Regions from separate parts of the Homo sapiens genome. Here all the other regions are linked to region 2. The links are contacts of gene promoters, found by promoter capture Hi-C in human tissues and cell types (Jung and others, 2019). All regions are on one chromosome and are shown on one strand. The core of a region is centred on a gene start or on the middle of the fragment in contact, and the rest is flanking DNA. Distances in the headings are between cores, read along the strand shown. Region 1 overlaps CADM1 (cell adhesion molecule 1). Region 2 holds the start of CADM1 (cell adhesion molecule 1). Region 3 overlaps CADM1 (cell adhesion molecule 1).

What was found. Contacts are between HindIII fragments. The study calls those that stand out against the background at their distance.
Region 1: a contact is called between a fragment that was not itself captured here and the fragment with the promoter of CADM1 in region 2, in 1 of the 25 tissues and cell types used here (aorta).
Region 3: a contact is called between a fragment that was not itself captured here and the fragment with the promoter of CADM1 in region 2, in 1 of the 25 tissues and cell types used here (hippocampus).

What each region holds. Positions count from the first base shown.
Region 1 is chr11:115,465,521-115,469,832 of GRCh38, reverse strand. All of the region lies in intron 1 of CADM1 (cell adhesion molecule 1), which reads left to right. Among named protein-coding and RNA genes, the nearest start is that of CADM1, 37 kb to the left of the region's middle. The HindIII fragment of the contact is 6,588 bases long and covers 1-4,312 here.
Region 2 is chr11:115,501,498-115,505,877 of GRCh38, reverse strand. It overlaps CADM1 (cell adhesion molecule 1), which reads left to right and starts at 1,463. Exons shown (of 12, transcript NM_001301043.2): 1 at 1,463-1,607. The coding sequence starts at 1,484. RefSeq lists a silencer at 1,278-1,437. The HindIII fragment of the contact is 7,329 bases long and covers 1-4,380 here.
Region 3 is chr11:115,448,794-115,453,250 of GRCh38, reverse strand. The region is part of intron 1 of CADM1 (cell adhesion molecule 1); the gene reads left to right. Among named protein-coding and RNA genes, the nearest start is that of CADM1, 53 kb to the left of the region's middle. The HindIII fragment of the contact is 7,902 bases long and covers 1-4,457 here.

The sequences.
Region 1 (4,312 bases), core at 956-3,455, 37 kb after region 2:
GGGCATGGTGGCGGGTGCCTGTAATCCCAGCTTCTCGGGAGGCTGAGGCAGGAGAATCTCTTGAACCTGGGAGGCGGAGGTTACAGTGAGCTGAGATAGTGCCACTGCACTCCAGCTTGGGCAACAGAGAGAGACTCTGTCTCGAAAAAAAAAAAAAAAAAAAGCCCAGAAGTTGAGGATAGTATGGTTATGTAAAAGTTTCACTTCCTCATGATTAGGAAAAGAATAAAAACTAAATAAAGAACCAAGTAGCAGAGTAGTTTGAAACGGTTTAATGCATGTAGACAATTTACAGTTTCATGTCATCCTAAAGCACTGCCTCCCACAGCTTATTTATGTGGAACAAGAGACTGACCACCTGGTTTCACACCTTGATTCTGCCACTTCCTTTCTACATGATCTCAGTCAGGTTGTTCAATCTCTTTGAGCCTCAGTCTTTCCATTTATAAAATGGGGAAGGATAATGGCATCCACCTCATAGAGTTGTTGTATTAAAATGAGTTAATATATGTAAAACTATTAGAACAATGCCTGGGACATAGAAGGTGCTAGGTAAGTAGGTAAATGTCAGCTATTATTATTTTTTATAGAGGAGTGGCTGAAGTGCTTTATATGAAAGGTGAGTATACTTAGCCATATTTATAATTAGAGAAGTAGAAATCAGAGCTTCTATAAGAGTTCAATAGTGCAGAATGTATATTTTGCATCTTAGGTATTGATGTGGTGTGGCTGTGTCCCCACCTAAATCTCATCTTGAACTGTAGCTCTCATAATTTCCACGTGTTGTGGGAGGGACCCGGTGGGAGGTAATTTAATCATGGGGGTGGGTTTTTTTCTGTACTGTTCTTTTAATAGTGAATAAATCTCATGACATCTGATGGTTTTATAAAGGGGAGTTTGCCTGCACATGCCCTCTTGCCTGCTGCATGTAGGACGTAACTTTGCTCCTCCTTTGCCTTCTGCCATGATTGTGAGGCCTCCCTGGCCATGTGGAGCTGTTAGTCCATTATACCTCTTTTTCTTTATAAATTACCTAGTCTCAGGTATGTCTTTATTATTAGCATGAGAACAGACTAATACAGGTATCATGCCCTAGTCTGGGTTTTCCTGTAGACTTATGTTCATTTACTAACCTTGGGATAAATGAAAATTTGGAGCATGCCTGTATGATTTCTCTTTCTAAAAACTCAAAACCCACAAAACTACAGTAAGGTGCTGTCCCCCTTCCATTATCCATAGACCCTTTTGCCTTTCTTAAAAAACACATGCACAGCACTCACACAGACACACCCCTGTAAGACATAAGGTACCTTGGCCATTTTCATGAAACTGTTGTTAATTCCTTTCTTTAAAATTGAAGTCTTTTAGGATTTTAACAAATATCCTATTCATGAAGTTTTGTCTGTTCTTTTCTTCTGGATTTCACAACTCACCTGTTCTAGGAGAGTCTTCATTATTTTGGAGAAGGCTTCAAATCTACTATCTTCAAGCTTTTTTCTTTCCAGTGCACCCGTCTCATCTCATGTAACGTGGTGCTGGGAATATAAGACTGAGATTGTGATGCTCACAGTTTTTCTTCTTTGTAATTTTCTGTGTCTTGATTTTTTCCCCCAATGAACATGTATCTATTTCACAAAATCTATTTTACTGTTAAATAAAATTTTGGTAAACACTGGAAGTAGGAAATTAAAATGTGCAAAATTGTAAATTATCATTACAGTTTACTTATCTTTCTTGTAGATACCAGATACAGAATGCTTTTGTTTTATTACATCTTTTTCTATATGCAAACCGTAAGCTGAGTGTAGCACCTGGTTATGAAATTTTGTACTTATAGAATATATTCACTTTTATTGGTGGCTATAATCAAGATGAAATGCTTTTCTTAATAATTAATGTTAAGAAGAGAAATGTAAACTTTAGACAACTTTATGACTTCTCTCCAGAGGATGTATGGATGTGACTGGGTATGTGATTTAAAAAATTTTTAAAGTTCTTTGGATTTTTTTTCTTTTGTTTAAAGGTCCTTAGGCGTTTGCCTTGGCTTGCTGAAGAGTAAGGAGAAAACCCTGTAAACTCATTCACTCAGAATAGGATGAGAGTATTGTAGATTTCTTTTCTCCTTTGAGACAATTTTAAAATTACAATGGTCTTAGCCTAAGTGGTCCCTGTTACGGCTTCTCTCTTTTCCATGCTCAACACAGCCTTTGAGGAGGGGCTGAGGGACACGCCACCTGTTTTCAAGTGTATTTATTTCTTTATGCCTTAATATGCCTAGTGCATCTCAGAATGGAAATGTCCTGGAAATTGAACAGCTTCATAGTTGGGTGGCCCCATGAGCATTTAGGAAATATTTTGTGAAACTGTTGTGGTCATCTTGTGTACTGGTTCTGGTACTTTAATCCATCATTTTGGGATCATAGCTCTTCTGAGGAAAGAGCAGCCTTGCACCTTCAAGCCTTTCTATCTTCAATCAGTTGGGTTTGCGTATTCGAGCTCATTCCAGTTCATGATTGGCAGTTTTTGTGTTAGGTACCCACTCTGAAGTGTTCCCTATCGTTTAGAAGGTAGAAGTAGTCATCAGTGACTGAAGCCTAATTTAGATTCTTAAATCGAAATCATTGTTGAAGAATACTGCTCCTCCACTACAGACGTCTTGTGCATATCATGAGTGTCTTCATCAGAGAACAAGCTCTCACCCGGTCTCTCATAATATAAAAGCATTTTTAATCCCTCTTAACAGGTGCTGCCGCAGTTTATTTATAACTAATGCATTAAAATGAAAAATACTGAAAGGGTCCTAAGTGGAAGGTGGCTATTGAAATATTGCCATATTTAAATTATAGAATTTTGTCAGGCTGATTTGTGGAAAGGACGAGTCAATGTTGGCTGGTAAGTGATGTACTCACAGGTTTCCTGTAAGTTCGGGTGGTGCTTTCCGCAGTGTATATAAGTGGGTTGTGCAAAATCTGAGACCTACGATTCAATTGATTTTCCTTTGCATAATCATAATCATATTCATATTTGGTCAGCTTTCATGCTCTTTGATATTTCTGATCCTTATGAAGCATGACAAATGTTAGAACTCTTTTGGCCTTCTAGACTTATTGCAGCACAAAAACTCGAGATCCTAATTGAAAGAATTTTGAAGAGTGTTTCATTTAACCCTTTTCTTCCTCGTCCAAATTTGATCTCACACATGGGGAAGGTAAATGCACACCTTAATATTGGTGCAACATGTTATTCTGAAGACACGTGCTAAACATTTGAAAGTCTTGTTGATTTATATTTCCACCATGTTTTCTCTTTCCTGAAAAACCTTAGCCAGCGACTGAAGTAGTTGGGTTGTATTAATGGATGTTTATGTTGTCCTGTGACAGCTGGTTTTGCTAATTTGTTTTTACAGGGCAGTTTGTAGTAAATGAATGGCATGCTGAATATTTTACTGAGATTTCAGATTATCTAAAGAATATTTTCCGGTTTACTAATTGGTAGATAATGCTGAGTACATTGATGTTGACATGAGCAAATGGATTTAAAATGATTTGAAGTGAGCTTCATTAAAAGATGCTCTAATCACAGCCAGCAGGAAATGTCAAACTAGTTCTGCCTTCATTCACTCTGGTGGACAGGAACTGTTGCAGACTTACGATGCTACAAGTCATTGCAGTTTTGATTTTGGGGTGCCACAGGGTGGGGGAAATGGTGGAAGTTTTTTTTTCATAGCTTTTTTGGCTCATCATGTCTTTACCAGAAACTAAATAACAAATTACTAATTACCTGTATGGCTAAATGAACATTCTCTGAAAATCATAGTCACATTGCTGGAGTCTTATAATCCATTATGGGTTGAATACATGGAAGTCATGTTTGTTGCTCACTCTGAACTAGAAGTCTGTAAATTACTTGTTATCCATTTTAGCAGAATTCTATTATAGAATTAAAGCCAGTGGTGCTCATCAAAACATTAAGAAAAACCTAGGCAAAGGCATTCCAAATTCCCAGGTTAAAACTTACAACACTGGTTCTACTTTTCCTGCCTGTAAAAAGTTATAGAGGCTGTTTCATCAAAATTGAATGCTTGGGGAAAAAAAATCTAAGGGAGGCAGATTCTGAAGTAAGTCTCTTCAGGATTAAAATCTGTCTTTTTCTGATATCGACTGTGCGACTTTGTGCAAGTAACCTAACCTGCCTGAACCTTCGTTTTCTTGTCTGTAAAATGGGGATAATAATATCTATCTCATGAGGTCATGGGACTATCTTTATATCTATATGCTTTTCATGGTAGAAGGTACTTGGTAAGGGCTCTATT
Region 2 (4,380 bases), core at 214-2,713:
ATTTTATAGCAAGATGAGGACAGAAGGCTGGGGAAGTCATTTGGCGCAGCTCTTCTAGACTATAGCTCAGACTTAGCAATTTACATTCAGTAATCTCTTGGTCATTTAGCCACAGATAATTTGTCATGGTTTGTTTTAGCTGTTGTGATATTGATATTTATTATGCAAATTGTATTTCCTACATCTTATTGTTCTGCATTCTATGAATACTTAAATTATTATAAACCTTTACACTTAATATGGCTCGTCCTTCAATTTGATGCTTGAGCAACAGAGGGTCAGAGCGCACACGATCTTCTAGAGGGGAAGAAAATAAGTAATTAAAAAGCAGACAAACAAGAGAGCCGGCTGCCTGGCTGAAAAGAAAGCAAAGAGAATTTCGGGGAGGGAGAGTGAGTCCGGAGATGCAAGTCGCTTTAGCAGGAGAGGCTCTCCCAGAGACAGGGGAAGCTCGGAGCACCTGTTGGTCCCCAGCTTCCTTAGGAAGGGCTGGGGGCGCAGAGGAGGAGTGAGAGGGTTTGAGCCCCGAAGGAGGAACACGGCAGACCCTGCCTTCACCACACTCCCTCTCCCCAACTCCCACCACCCCCGCTCTTCACCTGAAGCCTTGACTAATTTTTTCCGTTGTTGTGTAATCTTAAATATCTAATATTACAAATATTTCACACATATATTCAACACACACCTATATATTAAAACCAGGGAGGAGACCCTCGACAAGCGGAGGAGCCTGAGCATACCCTCCTCGATCTACCTTTCCCGAGATTCTGCCGCAAAAAGACCGACTGGAAAATCTCAGAACCCGACTCTACGGCTGCCTTCTCCAACTATCCCCGAGTCTACCGCTAGGCTGTTGAGCGGGCTCTCCCGCTCCGCCGGACGTGCAAAGCACGCATGCACTTCTCCCAGATTGTTTTGTCAATCCGGGGACCTGCCTTCTTACTCTCCACTCCCGCACAGCCCCCGTTCCCAAAGATCTATTCCTTCGGTGCAAGGTGAGTGACGGAAATTTGCAACGTCTGGTTCGCTAGGCCAGATGCACTCGGTGTGCGGGACAGAGGACCCTCTTAAGGGAGATTCTCCAGTCGTCGGTCTGATACAGCGATTGCTATAAACATTCCTAATAAAGGTGTACAAGAAGCTAGACCCGCCCCCTGGAGCCCGAGTCCTTGCACGCCAGGCGCCCGGGAGAACACTTTTTCCTTGATCCGGGGAAAGCAAAACCCGAATTTTAACATAAACATATTTGCATACGCCCCTCCCCTTGGCCCCGCCCCTAGGTGGCGCGGGCGCGCCGCCGAACGCCAGCGCCAGGGGGCGGGGTGGGGGAGGGAGCGAGGCCCTCCGAGAGCCGGGTTGGGCTCGCGGCGCTGTGATTGGTCTGCCCGGACTCCGCCTCCAGCGCATGTCATTAGCATCTCATTAGCTGTCCGCTCGGGCTCCGGAGGCAGCCAACGCCGCCAGTCTGAGGCAGGTGCCCGACATGGCGAGTGTAGTGCTGCCGAGCGGATCCCAGTGTGCGGCGGCAGCGGCGGCGGCGGCGCCTCCCGGGCTCCGGCTCCGGCTTCTGCTGTTGCTCTTCTCCGCCGCGGCACTGATCCCCACAGGTAGGTGTGGGCACCGACCGGTTGGCCCCTAAATCTCCGAAGGCACCCCAGTAGCCTTGGCCACAGAGGGGGGAAACGTTTCCATGACAACCTCCCCCCACTTCCTACATCCGAAGCGGAGGGAGTGTGGAGAGGAAACTCAGGGCTGAGAGGGAAGGGGCTGAGGGCATCTGTGAGCCCCTTCTCCCCTGCCCGGCTAAGTGTGAATGAGAGTCCCCAGGGATGGCTGCACCCACACCTTCTCTCCCCGGCTTGGCGCGGGGTGCAGAGTGGAGTGAGAATGGGGGGCCCGGGGGCTGTAAAGCATGGGGGAAGGGGATGGTTCAAAGACAACCTCAACCCTTCCGGACCCTTCTAAACTCGCCGTTCTCCCCGTAACTTGCAGGTCCTCCCACCTCCCAGGGCTGTCCATTCGCCCCCACCTCTCCAGAGGGCCCCCCCAGTTCTCCATCCCCGAAGCCTCCTGGTGGCTGACTCCCAGCCGCCCGCGGCGTGATTTCTCCCCGGTCCCCAGGACATCCCCAGACTTGTCTGATCTCCCCTGCCCCTTCCCCCAACGCGCTCTGCCTTTCTCCCCTGTCCCCAAACTGCACGCCTCTCGTGTTTCCCTCCGGCCGTTCGCAGCCCTCCGCCCCCTCGGCTCTGCTGCGGGTCTTTTTGGCCCGGCTCCAGGCGGGGAAAGTTCCCCGGCCCGGCCCCGCGGGGGGGGCGGCCGCTGTCGCCGCCTCTGCGGGAAGGCGCCGGGAGCCCGCAGCCCGCCCGCCCCACAGCGTCCTCTGCCACGAGTGGGGACACGGGATTTCCCGGCTGCCCGTTCTTTCGGCGGCCCGAGGGTGGCGGAGGGGGCGTCGCGGCCTCTGCGGCCAGGCGGGCACCCTGCGGGCCTCCGCGCGCTCCCTGCGTGAAGAGCAGTCTTGGGAATTTGCCCAGGGGCGGCTCTGCACGCCCGGTGCCTTCCCTGAAGACACCGAGCACTCGGCTGGAGCCCGATGTGTGGCTGCCCGTGTGCCGGGCGCGTTGGCGCGGTCGGGAAAGAAGAGGGCAGTGTTTGCTTTTGCTAACAAAAGGGAGCCGGAGCTCTTCCTCAGCGGAGAGGCCGGCTGTGCTGCACCCAGCCTCCCTTCCCGCCACCTCGCCGCGCTTGGCAGCCGCGCGGCGTCCTCTGGCCCCTGCTGCAGGCTCCAGGCGGGCGCCGGGACCGAGTGGCACGGGGCCGCGGGGTGCGAGCGGCGATGCAGGAGGGGATGCAGCAGGGCTCTGAGCCTGCAAAGCCCCTCCTTGCAGCTCCAGAGCTGCAGGACCCGGGAGCAACAAGTGGCGGAGGACGCCGAGAGCTCAGCCCCCACCTGCGGAGCCCCAGGCCCGGGCGGGCACAGCGTTGGGGCCACGGTGCTGCTTCAGGGGCGCCTCTCCGCTTGGGCTGTGCCTTTTGTTTACACGCTAGAGGACACACAGTTATGTAAACACCGCAGGAGACACGCTGTAGGAGACGGGGGATGTGTGGGGGTGCTAGCTTGAGATTTGGGGGACGCCGGGTTGGCTGCTTGCCCCCAAAATAGGCTTGCAAAGGAGCTCGGCTTGGGAAACCTATTGGGGGGCGTCTGGCAGCAGCGTCAATTCCAGCGCTGAGGGTTTTTTTCCTCCATGCCACTGTCTCCGGATGTTGTTTATGTGTTTTTCCTCTGTGAATTCTTAATTTATGAGTTACGAGATAATTGGGTTCAGCCGATGCCGGTGTGGTTACAACTTCATTTCAGGTGATGCCTCTGACTGGATGGGTTCAATAAAATGTTCCTGAAAGAGATCCCTCGTGCTGCTGCATTGTAAAAAGCGCCAGTGTCAGTTAAACGTGAGCGTGAGTAAAGGCTCGGTAACTGGCGCATAATAGAGGCAACAATAGACTTGTATTGGCTGCAAAAAAAAAAAAAAAAAAAAAAAAAAAAGCCGGGGGGCGGTGGAAAGCTGTGGTCGGGGATATTGCTTTTTGACTAAAAATGGGAGTCGTGCAATGACGCTTGGCAGCAGAAGTAGGATTAGATTATGCCTCCCCTGTCAAGACTGCTCATTGAAGGCACCGGGTAGTAGCAACGGTACTATATTTGTAACTATCTCGCGGTGAGAAGTTGCCTTCCCTGCGAGGGATATATGCTGACTTAGGAGCGGTCTGGAACTCAACCGTGCATGTCAAAGCTACATGAAAATTCTGTTGCCAGTTACCATGGAAGCAGCTTCTTGCTCTTGTGTACATCCCTGTTTGTATGCTGGTTATCAGATTGTGTTCAAATTAGAAAGTAATTGGGTATGATTTGTAGTGAGGAGATGAGATGACTTTCTTAATTTTTTTCTCTTAATGCATATATATATATTTCGTGGTGAGTTTGAGAGGAGGTCTTGGCTCATTCCGGGGTCCCATACCCCAGGGGTAAATTTCAGGTGGGCACCAAGGGACTTTTCCTCCTCAGTTCTGTTTAAGCTTTCTCAGAGGCCTCCAGTTCCCACTCCCAGGGTTAAAGAAACCTGTTGGTGCATCTGACTTCATTAGGCTTGTTTCGTTTACATCCTTGCTGGGAAAGCGAATTAGGACCATCGTGCGTGGGTCCTGGTTCTGTTTTCTCCTGTAACTGAAGCCATCCATCCCCCGCAGAAAATCTCCTCTCATTTCTCCTGTGATGTTTGGATGAAATGGATGTTAATGAAATGCAGTAAAAATGGGTTTGCTTAAGCTCACTCCACAGTGTTAATCACGCCTGTTATACGTTCAAGGTGCATGCAT
Region 3 (4,457 bases), core at 598-3,097, 53 kb after region 2:
CATGCACCACCACACCCGACTAATTTTTGTAAATTTTGTAGAGATGGAGTTTTATCATGTTGCCTAGGTTGGTCTCATACCCCTGGGCTCAAGCGGTCTGCCTGCCTCAGTCTCCCAAAGTGCTAGGATTGTAGGCATGAGCCACTGCACCTGGTCGAGTGCTTCCTTTTCTATGAGGCCAGAATGTTTCTATCACACCTAGACTAACTAGTAATGTAATTTTATCTACCTGGTTAGTTAGATAAAATTTATCTAATTATATATATTTATACTGCAAAGCATTACATGCTTATAGGTTTGGCTTTTCTTTCAAGAAAGCAATGATACCTCCTGAGTATTTTCTTCCATCCCCATGTCAATCACTCCCACCCTTTCTCCTTAAAAATTATTTTGGAGACCAAAGTATAATAGATTTTACCCAGAAGTGATATTTCTCACCAATGTAAACTTTGTACTTTATCTCTTAAAAGGTGGAAAAAAAGTATAGTAAAATATTACATATGCACAGAGCCTAGAGATTATATTTTATTCTATTATTCTTCCAAGTTGAGTTTTGTGCTGGTCTTATTTTTATCTCTCCATCTATGTTTGCAGGGCTGCCTGTTTCCCCCAAGTGTTAATGTAAACACATTTTATTTTGAGACAGATCAGCTCACTTCCCTCTGGAAATCCATCCCTATAATGTGGTAAACCTCAATATAACTCTCTGGTCCGAATGACATTTCATAACTGTGTACAAATCAAACATACTGTTGATATTAAATGACAACTTTTAATGCCTATGTCAACAATTCACTTAAGTCTCATTTCATTAAAACGCTTCTGATCTGGGGAGAAGCTGCTTGTCTGAGTAGATAAAGCACTTGACTTTCACCTCTAGTTTCCGGGTTAAAGTGCAGTTGGTGAGCTGTAATTCAAATGGATTTTATAGGTTCTGGGCTAGGAGACTGGAACAAAAGTCTGGTTCACATAATCAGAGGAAATCTTGGGTCATCTGAACAAGTGGGTGTCAAAACCAGTGATTTTCACTTTATTTCTTGTGTAAGTGAGCTTGTCTTTGTGGATGATTCCCAGCCCCCCCACCCCCCCACCCCACCACCCCACCCCGCTGGCCCCGCCAAACCTTAGAAATTTTAAAAAAGAAATTAACGTGGTCAAGATAGTTAACAAGTAAATGGAGTACCTTCTAGACCTGGGAGGACATATCTTGTAAGTTAATCCATATTCATTCCTTGAATAGTTCTCCCTCGGTTTCTCTTCCAGAAGTTACAGCCAGCTTTGGGTCCTCCATTCTTGCCTTGAGGAAATTTCCAAAAAGTTTTTTTTTTTCCCCTCCAGCCCCAGATGCTCTCCTGACTCTTTCCAGGACTCTCTAGGGGACTGGCTTTTGATGGTTTCCTGAGTGTAATCCTAATTCCACCGGTGTTTTATACATATTGACTCCTCTGATTGTTTCCCTGTAGTTAGGAAAGAAGCCCAGGCTGGTTAGGAACCTCCTCTTATATGCCTAAATTAGCAAGGAAAACTGTTTCCCCCATTTCCATGGTCATGGTGTCTCTACTTCAAGAACAATCTCTGTGGGGATTGCTCATGTCTTAAACTGAAGCCAATGACTACACTATACCTGTTAAGTGGTCTGTAGGGGATGTTTGAATGAATAACAGTAGTTGCTGCTGCTACTTTAATAATGTCATAATGTTTTTGTTTCATACAACTTACTGAAGTTTAGGACTTGTGCACAAATTGCTACCTATGTCCTTTTTCGCCTGGGACCTCCTACTTTGTGAGCCCTCAGCAAATGTAGGATAATCAAGAAGGGGAAATTAGCCTTGTGGCTTTAACGGGTATCTTCAAATGGCTACACGTGGTAAAACCCTGGGATTGTGCTGAATTCTTACATACCTGTATCAATGCAGAAAGACCCTCAAAAAAATTACAGCCCTTTCCATAGTGGAACAATCGTAATATAAAATAAGTGGCTGTTAGGCTTCTTTCAGGTCTTGATAACTTAGGCAAGGCAGATAATTAATACAACCAAGATGACAGTTGACTATAATTGGCTGCTTATTATGAAGTTTAGACATTTTCCTCCCTTCTATCTCTGGGAGAAGGAAATTGCTCTAGCATATGTGTGTAGAAGACATAAAACTTGCTACAGCAGTATTTTTATTTCCAGATTATTCTTAAAGCTATTTAAAAGTCACCACAGAATGAGCTTTACAGAAGCAATGTAATGGCTCCTTTAGGTTTTTGTGTAAATTCAGATAACTGAAATGTTAGCCTTGATTGATGATTAAAAAGGAAGGAGGTACACCAAAGCTGATGGTGAGCTCTGGATACAGGATAAAGGAATTGGGGTTGTGGGGGAAAGATCTCACCATAGTCCCTTAAGTTCTTTTATAGAATTTCTGTTGTGATTGGTAACGTAAGGAGCATTTGAAAGATGATCGTTATTTGAGAAATGTTTCTGAACTAGAAACTTGCAAGCTTTGAATCCTGTTAATACTCACTGGCAATGATAGCCATTTTCCATTCCATGAGATCACTTTGGAACTTGAGCATAATTTTATTTCTGCTTCACAGTTCTTAAAATCCTGTTTGGAAATGTCATTAGGAGGATAAGGGATGTAATGAAAAATACGTTTTCTCATGTACCAAATCAAAGTGTATAGTTATGGAGCTGGCTATCTATACTGAACAACAGTTAACAAAATGAATTGGCTGCTTTCCGCATTTGAAGTTGTATAGTGTAAAATTCAATGAAACGTTCAATAACTGGAAAGATCACATCAGCATCAAGGATGCATTTAGCAGGTTTCCTCCTACCATATTACTAAGATAGAAGCACAGTTTTAGAACTAGGAATAAAGGCTATGAATGAAGTTAAAAACTGTGGGAGGCCTGGAAGTAGAAAGATAAGTAGGAGTGACTGGGCCTGGAAACTTGGATTTGGATGCAAGTGAAGGAAACAGAAAGATGGGCCTGTGCGGACCAGTATTTTATGATTGGTGCTCTTGTCAGTATCTTCCACTGAAGGCTGAAAGTTATTTCTTGAAACTAGCACCTGTCACACCCCTCCTTAAGGCAAAGGACCTTATTTTTGGTGGTTGAACTTGCTGGGTCAAACAGAATCACTATGCCTGATTCTCATGTTGTATGGAAAGACATAGGGAGGGGTGAAAGCAGCTTTTTTTCCATTCAGCGTTTTTAGCAGGTTTTTAGAGTGAGGAGTTATTCCATGAGTGAATGAATGGAATGAATGAATGAAAAAAAAAATGGCCAGGTTTGTTTTTCTTGGAAAGGTTTTATTTCCTATAAAGAGATATGGCATAATTGTGTTTTCCCTGGCATAAAATGAAAAATAAAATCTAGCAAAATGCATACTTAAGGGATGTGTGTGCACATGTGTATGTCACTATAATATATAATGAGACTGTTGAACTCTCTAGAATGTTTGGAACTATAAAGTTTAGCTGTTTTGAAATATTCCTCTGTTAGACATTGGCTTAGGGAAATACATGTTTTCGTATAAAACACCGAAAGCATTTTCGGTGGCATTGTCGGGAAATGCACCTTGCCTTCTAAAGCAGTAGATGCAACTTTTAAGAATGCAAATTTGAAAAACTGACAGGGGAAAATTACAAGAAGCTTACATATTCTTGAATTTTCTCCATCTGAGTTTTAAGTAGGCTGGTGTTAGGCTGGAGCTGCTTCTGATTATGACTCTTCTAGGGGGAAAACACAGTTTTACAGGACTGACCTTAAGTGCAAAATGGATAGTAATTCAAAGCCCTGAGGGGGCTTAAGAAATGAAGGTGGCTTATTGGTTTTGGCAGGGAAAGGGTTGTCTGGTAAGACCATTGAGCCTCTTAGCTGAAAATGCTGACAAGTTGAGCAGAGAGCATCTGTGCTATACCAAGCACAATCATTATTTTCATTGGCAAAATGTATTGCTCACAGTTTTGGGTAGTCTGTCCATTTTGTCAGTAATTTAATCTAGGTTGAAAAAGGCATGGGATATAAACCGCTATTGTTGAGCATCCCTGCAGGCATACCTGGCAGGTTCCATTCCAACTTTTAATGAGGAGTCTTGCTTTATGTTGGGGTCCGCTGGTGGCTTGCAATATCTATTTTGGGGCGTTTTAAGATGGGGGTTAGCTCTTGAAATTGGACAAGGTGCCTGCATAAAAGATGATGAGATATTTTTTCCCTCTTGGTCTCTGCTCCTTGTTAAATTGGTAATTAGGCGAGACTTTCAGACAGAAGTAAAAATACAGATGACATGGGATTGTGTCTAAGGTGATAGCTTTTCTTTCATGGGAAGAATAATCCTGAGGATTGAAATAAAGAATTTGAAGTAGAAACTTAATACATTTGAGATCTTCTATATTTTTATAGTAATTTTATTTCACAATATGTGCCAATAATACATGACACCTTCAATAATGTATTTTTAT